4 separate regions of the Homo sapiens genome follow, and regions 2, 3 and 4 are each linked to region 1. Evidence: promoter capture Hi-C in 16 types of primary human blood cells and fetal thymus (Javierre and others, 2016). All regions are on one chromosome and are shown on one strand. The core of a region is centred on a gene start or on the middle of the fragment in contact, and the rest is flanking DNA. Distances in the headings are between cores, read along the strand shown. Region 1 holds the start of SCN7A (sodium voltage-gated channel alpha subunit 7). Region 2 overlaps XIRP2 (xin actin binding repeat containing 2). Region 3 overlaps XIRP2 (xin actin binding repeat containing 2). Region 4 overlaps XIRP2 (xin actin binding repeat containing 2).

Evidence for each region. Contacts are between HindIII fragments. The CHiCAGO score rates a contact against its expected background, and 5 or more counts as called.
Region 2: a contact is called between a fragment that was not itself captured here and the fragment with the promoter of SCN7A in region 1, in 1 of 17 cell types (fetal thymus). The highest score is 5.3, in fetal thymus.
Region 3: a contact is called between a fragment that was not itself captured here and the fragment with the promoter of SCN7A in region 1, in 1 of 17 cell types (fetal thymus). The highest score is 7.7, in fetal thymus.
Region 4: a fragment that was not itself captured here is called in contact with the fragment with the promoter of SCN7A in region 1 in 1 of 17 cell types (fetal thymus); the score reaches 5.1 in fetal thymus.

What each region holds. Positions count from the first base shown.
Region 1 is chr2:166,492,729-166,495,756 of GRCh38, forward strand. It overlaps SCN7A (sodium voltage-gated channel alpha subunit 7), which reads right to left and starts at 1,521. Exons shown (of 26, transcript NM_002976.4): 1 at 1,240-1,521. The HindIII fragment of the contact is 2,984 bases long and covers 987-3,028 here.
Region 2 is chr2:167,199,108-167,202,048 of GRCh38, forward strand. The region is part of intron 3 of XIRP2 (xin actin binding repeat containing 2); the gene reads left to right. Among named protein-coding and RNA genes, the nearest start is that of XIRP2-AS1, 60 kb to the left of the region's middle. The HindIII fragment of the contact is 2,293 bases long and covers 259-2,551 here.
Region 3 is chr2:167,235,072-167,237,799 of GRCh38, forward strand. All of the region lies in intron 5 of XIRP2 (xin actin binding repeat containing 2), which reads left to right. Among named protein-coding and RNA genes, the nearest start is that of B3GALT1, 57 kb to the right of the region's middle. The HindIII fragment of the contact is 1,018 bases long and covers 892-1,909 here.
Region 4 is chr2:167,179,778-167,182,920 of GRCh38, forward strand. The region is part of intron 3 of XIRP2 (xin actin binding repeat containing 2); the gene reads left to right. Among named protein-coding and RNA genes, the nearest start is that of XIRP2-AS1, 40 kb to the left of the region's middle. The HindIII fragment of the contact is 1,008 bases long and covers 823-1,830 here.

The DNA of each region.
Region 1 (3,028 bases), core at 271-2,770:
AATCAGAATAGTGAAGTAGATAAAAACACAGAATAATCCCTTATGTAATCAACAGTTACACATATGGTACTTTCATAAACCCTTTATATCATCTCTGTCAATTAGTTTTTGTCAGGACTTTTTGGAGTGTCATTTATAAATAAAGAAAATAAAGCTTACTCAAGTTAAATAATTGGCTTAATTTGTACAAAAATTGAAATCAAGTTTTGTAGTTCTAAATCCCAAAGACTTGTTCATTGGACTTCCCGCTCAATTACTGATTTGCCAGGTAGCCTCAGCAAATTACTCCTTATAGGTCTTACTTGTAAAAACAGCAGCTGGATTATAGAATCTTTAATTAAGGCTAGTCATAGCAGGTATGGTGCCCAGGATTCTGTTTATTACAGGGCCCACTTTCCTTCTACTTTGCCATAAATTGCTCTCCTGAATGAACAGCAGTGGGGTAAAGTATCCACAAGAAGCACCACCCAAACTCTTTCCCATTTCAAGATATTTTTCAGTCCAATATCCAAACTGGAACCCATCATTTTCGTTAATGAAAGGGGCCCATCGGTGTGTCATTCCACATGCACTCATCATTTGTCTTGTTTTGACCAATGTTCTAAGTTTTGAAGCTAACACAACCAGTCACACTATCACTTCTAAAAGAAAACCTCCAGAAGAGATGCATTTTATAGAGCAAAACAATGCAAAAACAACAACAACAATCTCTGTTGATCTAGTCAATACCAAAATGCCCAACTGACTAAACTGAGCACACCACTGCCAATCACATCAATGCCTCTACTTTTATACTATCTATTCCTTTGGGAAAATCAATCTTGAAATCTCTGTTATTTAGAATAAGAGATAGGATTCTTAGAAGAAGTGTACAACAATCTGCATAACCTTTCCTCCATTTTATACTATCATTGTACCATGTAATGTAAGTCATTGTCATATAGGGTTTCTAGAATTTTACACTAACAGAGAATGTTGGTTTCAGAAGCTTACCTGATGGAATTAGAAAACTGACGGCACATGCCATGCAAACACCCACAGACCACGGCTGCTCTTGAAGTATACTCTTGAAGTAACTCTCCTAATGCACGTCCACAATTTCAAATCTCTGTCCTCCTGCTGGGGACCCTAAGGGTGTGTATGGGATGGGGCAGGTGGGAGTGGATGGGAAAGGCTGGCAGCGGATAGCGGCTATCACCATTCTGGGACTGGACACAGCAGCAAGAAAAAGGCACTTACTTGCTACGAAGCGACAGGTCTCCACCAGTGCCTGAGGGACCCTTCAGGAGCAGGGCTCCTTGGAGCCCTTTCCTCCTCCTGGGCTTCTCTTTCTCCACGGATCTCTCGGGTTTTCTGAGCTCTAGTTGTACAGAAGCTGCTGTTAGGCTGGCGTCTGTCCTCACCAGCTGTGGCTCTGCAGTAAATGGGCCCCACTAAATGGCCAGTTAGACACCGACTCACTGGGGCGACTCTCCAGCCACTGACCCAGAGACCCCTCCTACCCAGATGTCCAGTGGAGCCGCGCCCGCTGCTTGGAAGCTGTTTTTGTCTCCTTTCCACTCCTCCCTCCCCTCTCCCAGCCACTCCACTCTCTCCCCCGCCCTAATCTCCAGGCCAGTGAGCGACTTCAGCATCCAGATCGGGCGTGGGCGGGTGATATTGACAGAGACCTGCTGCAGATGCAGTAACAGCAGCAGCTGTGGCGTCTCCTCCAGCAGCTGCCGGGAAGGGAGGGAGGAAGAGGAGCGGGGGGCTGATGAGGAGGGGTAGAGGGGAGAGGGCCTGCAGAGCGTGAAGGAATGAAGGGGCTAGGGAACATCCAAGGAGGAGAGGAAAAGGAGCAGCGCGGTGCAGCTGAGGGGGAAGGGAGAGTGAAAATGAGGGAGAGGAGAGGAAGACAGAAAACTCTGGTTCTTTAACCTCCAGTTGTATTCTCTCTCCCCTTGCCTAGGTGCCCCAGCAGAACTTAGAGGGGCAATTGTCAGCCTGCAGCATTCAAATCTGGACATTGCTGTAATTAAGAGTTTGTAATCCTGTTGTTGTGTGAGTATGTGTGTAGCTGTTTTTAGGAGAGTCAAGAGTCAGCTGGAGCTGGCTTTTACTCTGGATCAGTTTCCCACTCTAGTGATTTGAAACACGAGGGACAGAGGAAAAATTATGTTTATTTTAGAAAACTGCGGCAATACAGTGTAGTTTGGGAGTGAAGGCCAGAGGGGTTGCACCTTCTTCCCAAAGGCCACACCATAGAACCTTCATTTTGTAACCCTATTTTATGCACACATCACATCACTTACTTCAAAAATATATCAGCATATGTCTCTGAATGGTAAGAACTTAAGATTTTAACTCAATACCCTGATCACATCTATAATTAGCAATAATTATTTTGTAGCATCAAACATTCACTTGATTTCTTTATAATGGACAATTGACTGACTGCAGGCTTCTCTTCTCCACACTCTGGTGATGATGCAAATGAATTTTCTAGAGCATAAAACCTTCCCTTAGAGCAGTCTGACACATATATCCCTTTTCACCCAGTAAAATTCTACACACCTTTCTGTACATTCAAACACAATATAAATTTAATGAACTTAATATCAAATATTTCAAAGTTTCCATGTGATATTTAAAATAAATAAAAAGAAGTACTGCTTTTTATAATGTGTAATGAACAGGCAGTTGATCCCAAGATATTGTACAAACCAATCACATAAATGAGAGGCAAATAGATGGGAAACTAATGGTGTTGGTTTTATATTCTGAGTTAGCTAGCCATTTTCTTGTTTTGGAACAAATATTTGTTTTGGGACAAATATTTGGCACTACGGTTATATAACGGTTATGTAATATTACCAGGTTGGATCTGAAAAGTTTTGGCAATTATCGTGCCCCTAATAATGAGCTGAGGATCCTTCCTCCCCCACTGAGTTTCTCAGCAGGAGGAACTACATAGTGGAGGGTCTGTTTTCAACATTTCTGCCTTAAGAACTTTATAAGCATATTTCTAAACTCTACTTTCTAAGTA
Region 2 (2,941 bases), core at 155-2,654, 710 kb after region 1:
GGGCTTTCTTTTAATATCTTTTGTCAAAATAAATTTCAGATGCTAACCTTAAAAGAGGGATGAAAGTTGGGATGAAGGTGAAGAGAGGAAATTCCTAAAACACATTCAGATACCTCTAGTTCCTACAGAATGCTTTTAGCACAAAAATGATTTAAGGTAATAATCAGTAAATGATTAACATTCCTACCTCTGTGTACATTCAAACAACTTAAAGATAAGCCTGCCAGGAAGACACTTTTCAAAGCCACAGATTATTAAAGCTTAATCTCCATTACATTACCTTGGCGTATTTTTTGCTCTGTTGAATGCCAACAGCATACTTGGAATTAAACAAAACAGTTCACTACACATGACCCAGCTTCATATGGAATTTTACAAAGCCTATGAAAGAAAGGGTTGATCATTTGAGGAAAAAGATTTTAAGCTAGTATGCACAGGTCATCCCCATCTACCAATGCACTGCTTTGACCCAGAATTAAATCACTTTCTGTGTATTCTGGAGGCCATAATTGTTTTAGGGGCACTAGTGGATATTTTAACCAGTCCCTCAGAGGCACGCACACTTTCTATTAATCATAGACTGAGCCTGCCTACCGTCTCTCCATGGCTGAGGGGTGAGCACATTTGCTTGCTGTTTCTCAAGTTTTCATTCCAGCTTAGACAACCAGAAAGAAGATGACATTCTCGCCACAAGGGCACAGACCCTTAGTAACTAAACCACACATAAAGGAGGATCTGGAAAGCTGAGAATCACAAGGAAGTTTGGGAAAAGGAAAAGCACAAATGAAGCGGTAGGAATGAAAAAGGGATACATTAGAAAATTAGGGTCAGAAAAAAAAGTTATGTCAAAGAGGTAGCAATTCTGTAAGAAACAGAATTATGTAGAATGATATGAAATTTTTGGATTTTCTAAAACAGAGACTTTAGAAAGAATAGGATAGCAACTAGTTTAAATAGAATGAGTAATGAAATTAAATAGAAAGGAGATGCGTATTCAAACTAACCAAACATAACAATATATTTAGGGGTTTTCCTCACAATGTAGAGTTTTTCAACACATGGGTACTAAGCACAGTAACGGTAGAATGAATCATCAATGAAGGATACAGTTTCCTTCTCTTTACCTTTGGTAGGTTGCCACAAAGCAGCAGGGACTTAAAGACTGGCCTAGTGATCACCTGGGCTGGTCTAGGTCACGGCCAGTGTTCACTGTGCCGAGCCTATTTCTCAAAGGTCCCATAGCAAATTTTTAAAGTGAGTAACTTTGAATGACGATTTTATGATTTTACCTAAAAAACATAGAGCAGGAAAAAAACATGAGGAACCATTAAGGGGGCGGGGTGGAAAGAGCAGATCTGTCTCTACAGTGTAACGTGCTAGAGTGATTTTCATGAACTTTACATTTCCAGTGGACTTTCATGTTGCTTGTCAGTGAAAAATTGGTGGTTCACGGCCTAGTGCCAAAACCACAGATAAACGAACACTTTACATGTCATATACATTCATAAAACCTGTTATATTTATCTTTTTAGAAATAAGGTCAGATCAATACTGTATTTCTTGAGAATCTTTCTAGTGTTATTCTTTTTTTTTCCTCTTCAAATGGAGCATGACTGACTATAATGGTGATTAATTTGTCTCCAGGTCTGACAACCATGCCTAGCCGACAGTAGCTGGGAAGTAGATGTTTATAGAATGCAGGACTAAAGCCCTAAGAGGAAAATGTACCATATACCTGCCGGGTGTGGTGGCTCACGCCTGCAACCCCAGCACATGGGGAGGCCAAGGCAGCTGTATTACTTGAGGCCAGGAGTTTGAGACCAGCCTGGCCAACATGGTGAAACTCTGTCTCTACTAAAACTACAAAAATTAGCCGGGTGTGGTGGCGGGTGCCTGTAATCCCAGCTACTAGGGAGGCTGAGGCAGGAGAATTGCTTGAACCTGGGATGCAGAGGTTGCAGTGAGCCGAGATCATGCCACCGCACTCCAACCTAGACAACAGAGTGAGGCTTTGTCAAGAAAGAGAGAGAGAGAGAGGGAGGGAGGGAAAGAGAGAGAGAGAGAGAAAGAAAGAGAGAGAGAGAAAGAAAGAAAGAAAGAAAGAAAGAAAGAAAGAAAGAAAGAAAGAAAGAAAGAAAGAAAGAAAGAAAGAAAGAGAGAGGGAGAAAGGAAAGAAGGAAGGAGGGAGGGAGGGAAGGAAGGAAGGAAAGAACGAAGGAAGGAAGGAAGGAAGGAAAGAAGGAAGGAAGGAAGGAAGGGGAAGGAAGGGCAGGAACGGTACCATATACCTTCAGTATATACCTGTGATGCGGATTTAGACAAGGGGACATTTGGATGAAAGCGCGACACCACCTCCCATCCCCTGGAGCACAGTAGATCACTTGAAAATGAGACCAGTGGCCCCTGCTTTGCATTTTCCCTTCCTTGCAGTTAAGTTTATTCCCTTCTCTGTTCAACTGGACCTATCCCTAACCCCTTCTTAAGTTTGATCTCTATGGTGACCAAAGCAATATAGCTGAGGAATTTGCTTTGATTTCTAATTCTAAACTCAAGCTTGTAATAATGAAAAACAGCCACTGATAGCTGTGGAAATTCAGCTTATTTATTTCCCTTTGATTTATCCTTAGATTATGCTGAAGTCAATGTCTAGAAAGGATTTAAGTGCATATATTTTAGGAAGCAGAAAAGAGTTTCATACCCTTAATTAAAAATTTACCTTGAAATAAAAATGTTATATTTTAATGAAAATATATTTACGTAAGAGACTGTGTAGAGTTGAAAGTTGTATGCAGAAATACTTGAAATCAACTCCGGGTTCAGCTACTTGCTATATGATATTATCTTCTGAGTGTTACTTCCTCAACACTAAAATGGGAATAAACCACCCATCATATATGGTTGTTATGAGAATTAATGGGATAATACATGTAAAATAATTAAC
Region 3 (2,728 bases), core at 151-2,650, 740 kb after region 1:
TTATTTTAGATTCAGGAGGGTACATGTGCATGTTTGTTACATGGATATATTGCATAATGGTGGGATCTGGGCTTCTAGTGTATTTATTGCTTTCTTGGTACAGACTTCTTCTTGCTCTGATGGTGTCAGCTACCCTTTACAGCATCACAGAACTGCACATATTTTTCCATAGATGTTCTGATCTATGAACATCTGTGAAGAGACTCCTCTTTCTGAGTGCACTTTGTAAAGTGATTGATATATTATTGCTAGTGTGAAAGGGATGACCAACCAAAATGACAACAACAAAAAAAATCATAGGTTTATATGGAAGAATTTGGAATCTCAATTTTGAAAGCAGATTAAAAATTATAAAATTTTCACACTACTAAAAAAAAGTGACTACTGTATTTACCCATGTATTTACTCCTTGACATTTTATTGGCTATCTACTGTGTACCTGGAAGCTAATCATTGGGATTTGAGGATGCATGTGATAGACAGAGTTCTGTTAAAGGAGAGAATCATATTAGCAAATGATGACTATGAAATGTGATAGGTAGATAATACAGATGTGTGCTAATATCACAGGAATAGAAAAAGCAAGAATAGTGCACCCTGTATAGAAGTCAGGAAAGGTTTCAAAAAGAAAGTAATTTTTGAGCTAAGTCTTTAAGAGGGTATAATGAATGTGGAAAAGCCTTTACATAAAGCTCACACCTTAGAGATGTCAAGTTGCATATTGTAATTTTTAAGAGAAAATTAATAAAAATAAAAAGAGAAACCTCAGGGCAAAAGGAAAAAATTCAATGTTTGAATTTTAATGTATCTAAATCCAGACAATCACAATGGTCACCCACAAATTGCTATGCTCATCACTTAAAAGAAAAAATGAACTGATTATTCTTTCAAAGCTTGAATCCACTGACATTTTTGCTCACATGAACAGCCTGTTTTTGGTATTGTTTATGTCTGTTTGACAAAGATGTAAATAACATTAATATATCATAACTGTTTCTAGTTTTATTAAAAATGAGATTAGTAAAAATGCTGTATTACTGGCATTGAACATGAACTTCCGTTTTTTCCACTCTAGTGAGACAGTTACCCTCTACTATTCTGCCAGTCTTTCCCCATAGGTTTTTCTATTGGATATACTTCCAAGAGTCACAATAATAGTGAGTCGCCATAAAAAAAAAAGTTTTTTTAAAGCCTGTCCTTTTTCCTTACTCATTGCACTAGAATGAGTTTGCAATTTTATTGGGAAATTTACAATGTCTTTCCCTATAATGATATAAGAATGAAAAGTTGAATAGGCAGGATACGAACTGCTTCCTGTGCAGGAGAAATCTCCTTAGAAGATGTGCATATCAACAATAGATTTTTGTGATATAGTTGGTTAATATATAAGCTGACATCAGACTGATGTGAGCTATGCAAACACCATAATATTGTCTTGCTGTTGTACTGCATTTTCTTTTTTAGATTTCAAAGTTAGAGCATATACATCATCTCTTTTTCTTTCCTTTAATGCCTCATGAGATGAAAGACATGAGTTTAAGTGTGACTTCATGATTTTTCCCAAGATTATAACATACCTAGTAAAGGAAAGAGTTAGGACTAATCTCCCATTCCTGAATACTGGTTAATTGACCTGTGAACAAAATAACATTTGTCTCTTGCAGACTGGTCTATATTTAAATTTAATTTTCAGCAACCAATTTTATGAATTATTGGTGTGAATTTATGAATGGTGACCCGAACAGAGTTGTTTATAACATTTTATTTAATTTGATTTCTGCCTGAGCATTACGATGATCCAGCTTTCTACCTAACCCTATACTCTATAGACACCAACAATTAGAAAGTCAGATTTTAAATCCAAACTAAACTAGTTGCAAAATATGCAACAGTAAATGGTAGAAACAAAAGCTTGGGATATTTTAAGGAATATTTTATGTAAGTTACAGTAACTAGAGGGCAGTAAAATTGATGCATTGATGCTAACATACCAAACTAGTATGGCAATTACAGTTCTATTTGGAAATAGCACATAAATGCTGAAGTAGAAACTTACGACTTTAAACAAAATTTATGTACATTTGTACTGTTTATTTTGTGTCATCTCCTACAAGAAAACATATTTACAGATGATAGGCATAGATTGTTTTTACTCAAGTAGATACATATTAACTACAAAGTGTTTGTCCCAGAAAATAACTTTTAAAATATGTGTCAAAATTACATTTATTTACAGTTTTTCTATTCCAAATATTTTGCATTTTTCTCAACACAGAGATTTATGTCACTAACTCTACTCTTTCAGATTGGTGGCAGGTATCTGAAACTCAAATTTCCATGGGTACCAGACAAGTTTTGTTGCTTTTTTTTTTAAATGTCATCTTGCTCTTAAATATTAGCAAGTGATAGTGATGGTGGCCAACTACAAGGTATATGCCCAACTAAAAGCCAGACTCTGCCATGTTAAAATATGAACACAGTGTTACCATGTCTTCAGAGTTTTTAAAAGCAGAAAAAATTTTTTATTTTTGTAGATGTTACCTAATTCGAAACTTTAAAATCACTGTGTGGGCCAAATAAAGCACATCCCCAGGCCTCAGCGGGCATGTAGGCCTCTAGGCGGAGACATGATTCTATAGAAATGATCACGGTGCCCCTCATAGGGACCTTGGTTCTGATCAGGTGCACATTCTCCTTTGCTACTTCACTGTTTAATTGGTACTTCCTA
Region 4 (3,143 bases), core at 77-2,576, 690 kb after region 1:
TATAGGCATGTGCCACTGCACTGGCCTAAATTTGTGTGTGTGTGTGTTTTTGTGGAGACAGGATCTCCCTATGTTGTCTAGGCTCTTCTCAAACTCCTGGGCTCAGGTCATCCTTTCGCCCCACACACCCAAAGTACTGGATTACAGGCATGGGCCACTGCACCTGATCAGAAATTTTTTATATATTCTAAAATATGCCTCTATATTCTTCATACATAAATAACAGAAAGTTGTCTACAAATAGAGTTATCTGTTCAAATCTATGTCCATTACAAAAACAAACAAACTTGAAACACCTTTCACTTAATATTCCACTGTTTCATAGTGCGTATCTTACTGAAGAACTCTGAGATCAGTTGTCTTTTTTCTTTATTCATTACTTTTTAATCTTTAAAATTCAAAAATTTATAAGGGCATATCCAGATGTCTTGAGCCTTTGGTTTTGTCATCTCAGATCTTACTTCACCTCAAAAACTTTTTCTTTCCTTTTAAATTTAATATTTATTTCTGTGCTATTTTGCTCTTTCCTCCTCTGAAACAGTTATGTTTCTTTGATCATACCTCTTCCTTCATATTAATCCTTATCTAGGTCTTCATTTTCATCTCTTTGATTTTGCTCCTGTGTTATGGAAAAATTTCTCAAAATTTTCCCCATTACATTGATTGAATTTCATTTTTATATGTGCTCTTTTCTGTATCAAGTGCCATTTTAATTTTTCTGTTGAATTTTGCATTTTTTGCAGTCTATTTTAGTCTTCACTGTTTTCGTTATTTTATTTCATTTTATTGTCTCCTTAATAACAGCTAATCCACTTTCATAGAAGCTTCTCTCCCTGAATCTTTTTGAGCACATCAAGAATGTAGCTTGTATCTTTGTGACTTTTTCAGGTATTTTGGAATAAACTAATAAACTTGATCAGTTCTGTGCCTCATTCAGTCACTGTCCCTTACCATTGTTGAGCAGTGCCTCTTTATTCTACCTTGTCCACTTACTTCACTTGCATTGGGTCTTCATTGACTGAGGTCCACCATTTCCTTTCAATAAGATGAGTACATTTTTCTTATTGTGCCATCACTAAATACTTGGATCCTGTAATTTCTCCCATTGATTTTTCTTTTCCTTCTGAATTATATCTAAAATCTTGAATTACTGATACTGTGCAAAGTTGCTGAATAGAATTATGACTTCTATCCTATACCTTACAATCCTAACTTGTGTTTTCAGATACAATGTGTAAACTTCCTTTTGTATGGTACAAACCATGAAATATTACAGAGTTCCACCATCCCTTCTCTAAAGCATTGTTCCCTTAAAAACCTAACAACACATCCCTATCTTTTCCTTTTCTCTTGAGAGACATGGTGTGTGCATAGGTATATAATGATGGGGTAGGGGTGTAGCAGAGGCAGGGCTGTGGCTTGGGCTGGTCCAGAAGATGTTTACACGGAATTGGTGAGCCCACCTAGTTTTGGTCAAAGCAAACTTAGACTGTGGAGTGAGTCCAAGCCTCTCTCTATTATTTGGGGAAACTATTTGTTCTTCTCTGACTCAGAGTTTGTCCTATGCAGTATGTCATCCAAAACTGTGATTCACGTTTGTTGCTCACAAAGATAACCACAATTGGAAATTCTGTACGAATTTCAGCATATCTTCTCCAACTCCTCTTCCTCTTTGTCTTCTTCAAATTCTTGTTTTTCTTCAAATTCTTACTGTCTCTCTCTCATTATTAGTAATTAATGTTATTTTTTATTTTTTAAATTATTTTAATTGAAGGTTGACAAGAAGCCTATCAAGAACATCTGGACCTGCACCATTTTTTTTAACAAGGAAGCTTCCTTATTATACCTTACCTTTTTTCCTCCAGAACAAATATCATTGATTCTCTATAGTTCTTTCATTCATTCCTGTCTTTATTGTAAGGGATATGTCTGATCAAAATTATATTTATAGGACAGAGATGATCCTTTAAACACTGACGTAACTAGTAAAGAACAGTTTTACTTTTATTTTTTATATTGGGAGCCAGATCATTAGAAATCCTACTCAGTGTGTGCTCCAGTGGTGAGTCAAGACGGTCCACATTTGGCTCATTGGTCAGGTGTTTATGCATCCCTGTTTCCCCTGGACCATCCCAGCTTATGCCATTATGTTGGCATAGTTATTAATGGTGCTTTCTTCACTCCCCAAAGCCCCCTGGCTTGCATGATAAATTTATCACGGTCGCTCTACTTAACACTATGAGATATGATTTAAATATGAGTCATATGCCCAAAGACCTTATTCATACTTTATTAATACCATGATATAATTTTAATGGAATTAAACTTGGACAAGTGTAAATTATACCTGATTAAATTTAACTGCAATTCAATTACTAATACCCTAATTATGCTTACATGACACTTGAATGGGTCAATGGGTCATGCTACCTACAAGGGTCAAAGCAGATTGCCAAATCCTAATTGGTGGGCTAGTGTTTTGTGTATGCTAGCTAATAATATGAAACTTTCATATTCATATGTTTGCTCTTTAATTCTAAAAACCTTAGATGGGCCCCATTGGGTCAGAATTACATATCAGATGACTGAACTACAGTTGTCCCAGCATTAAAGTTCCCATACCTCCCCTGATAGTTCGCTTTGCTACCATGCAGAGACAGGGCCTTGCCAGAGCCTACCTATTGCAGGCCTACACTAAGAATTTATTATGGGGAAGAGTTGATCCCTCTCAAAACATATCACCCAACGTAGTGCTTGTATAGAACTTTTAGATTAAGGTCAGGATAAATAATATCCCAAATAATCCAAACATGTAGAGTCAGCAGAAATGAATTCAATTCCCACTTTTGCTGATTATTAACTTTTGTCCTTGGAGAAGTTATTTAACTTCACTCATCCTCAGTTTCTTTCTATAAAATGGTGAAAACACTAATATCTTGGGGTTGCTGACAGAATAAAAGAAAATAATAAAGGTAAATCACCTAATTAAATTGCTGGCACAATTTCTTTATAAAATGTAAATGGTTCTCTTAAAGGAAAATTAAAGAAAGAAAAAAATATTTACTACTTTTATTGGAAAGTTTTTATATTAATTAATGAACAAGAAAATAAACATGAGCCAAATCAATGTTGGTCTTTTATGT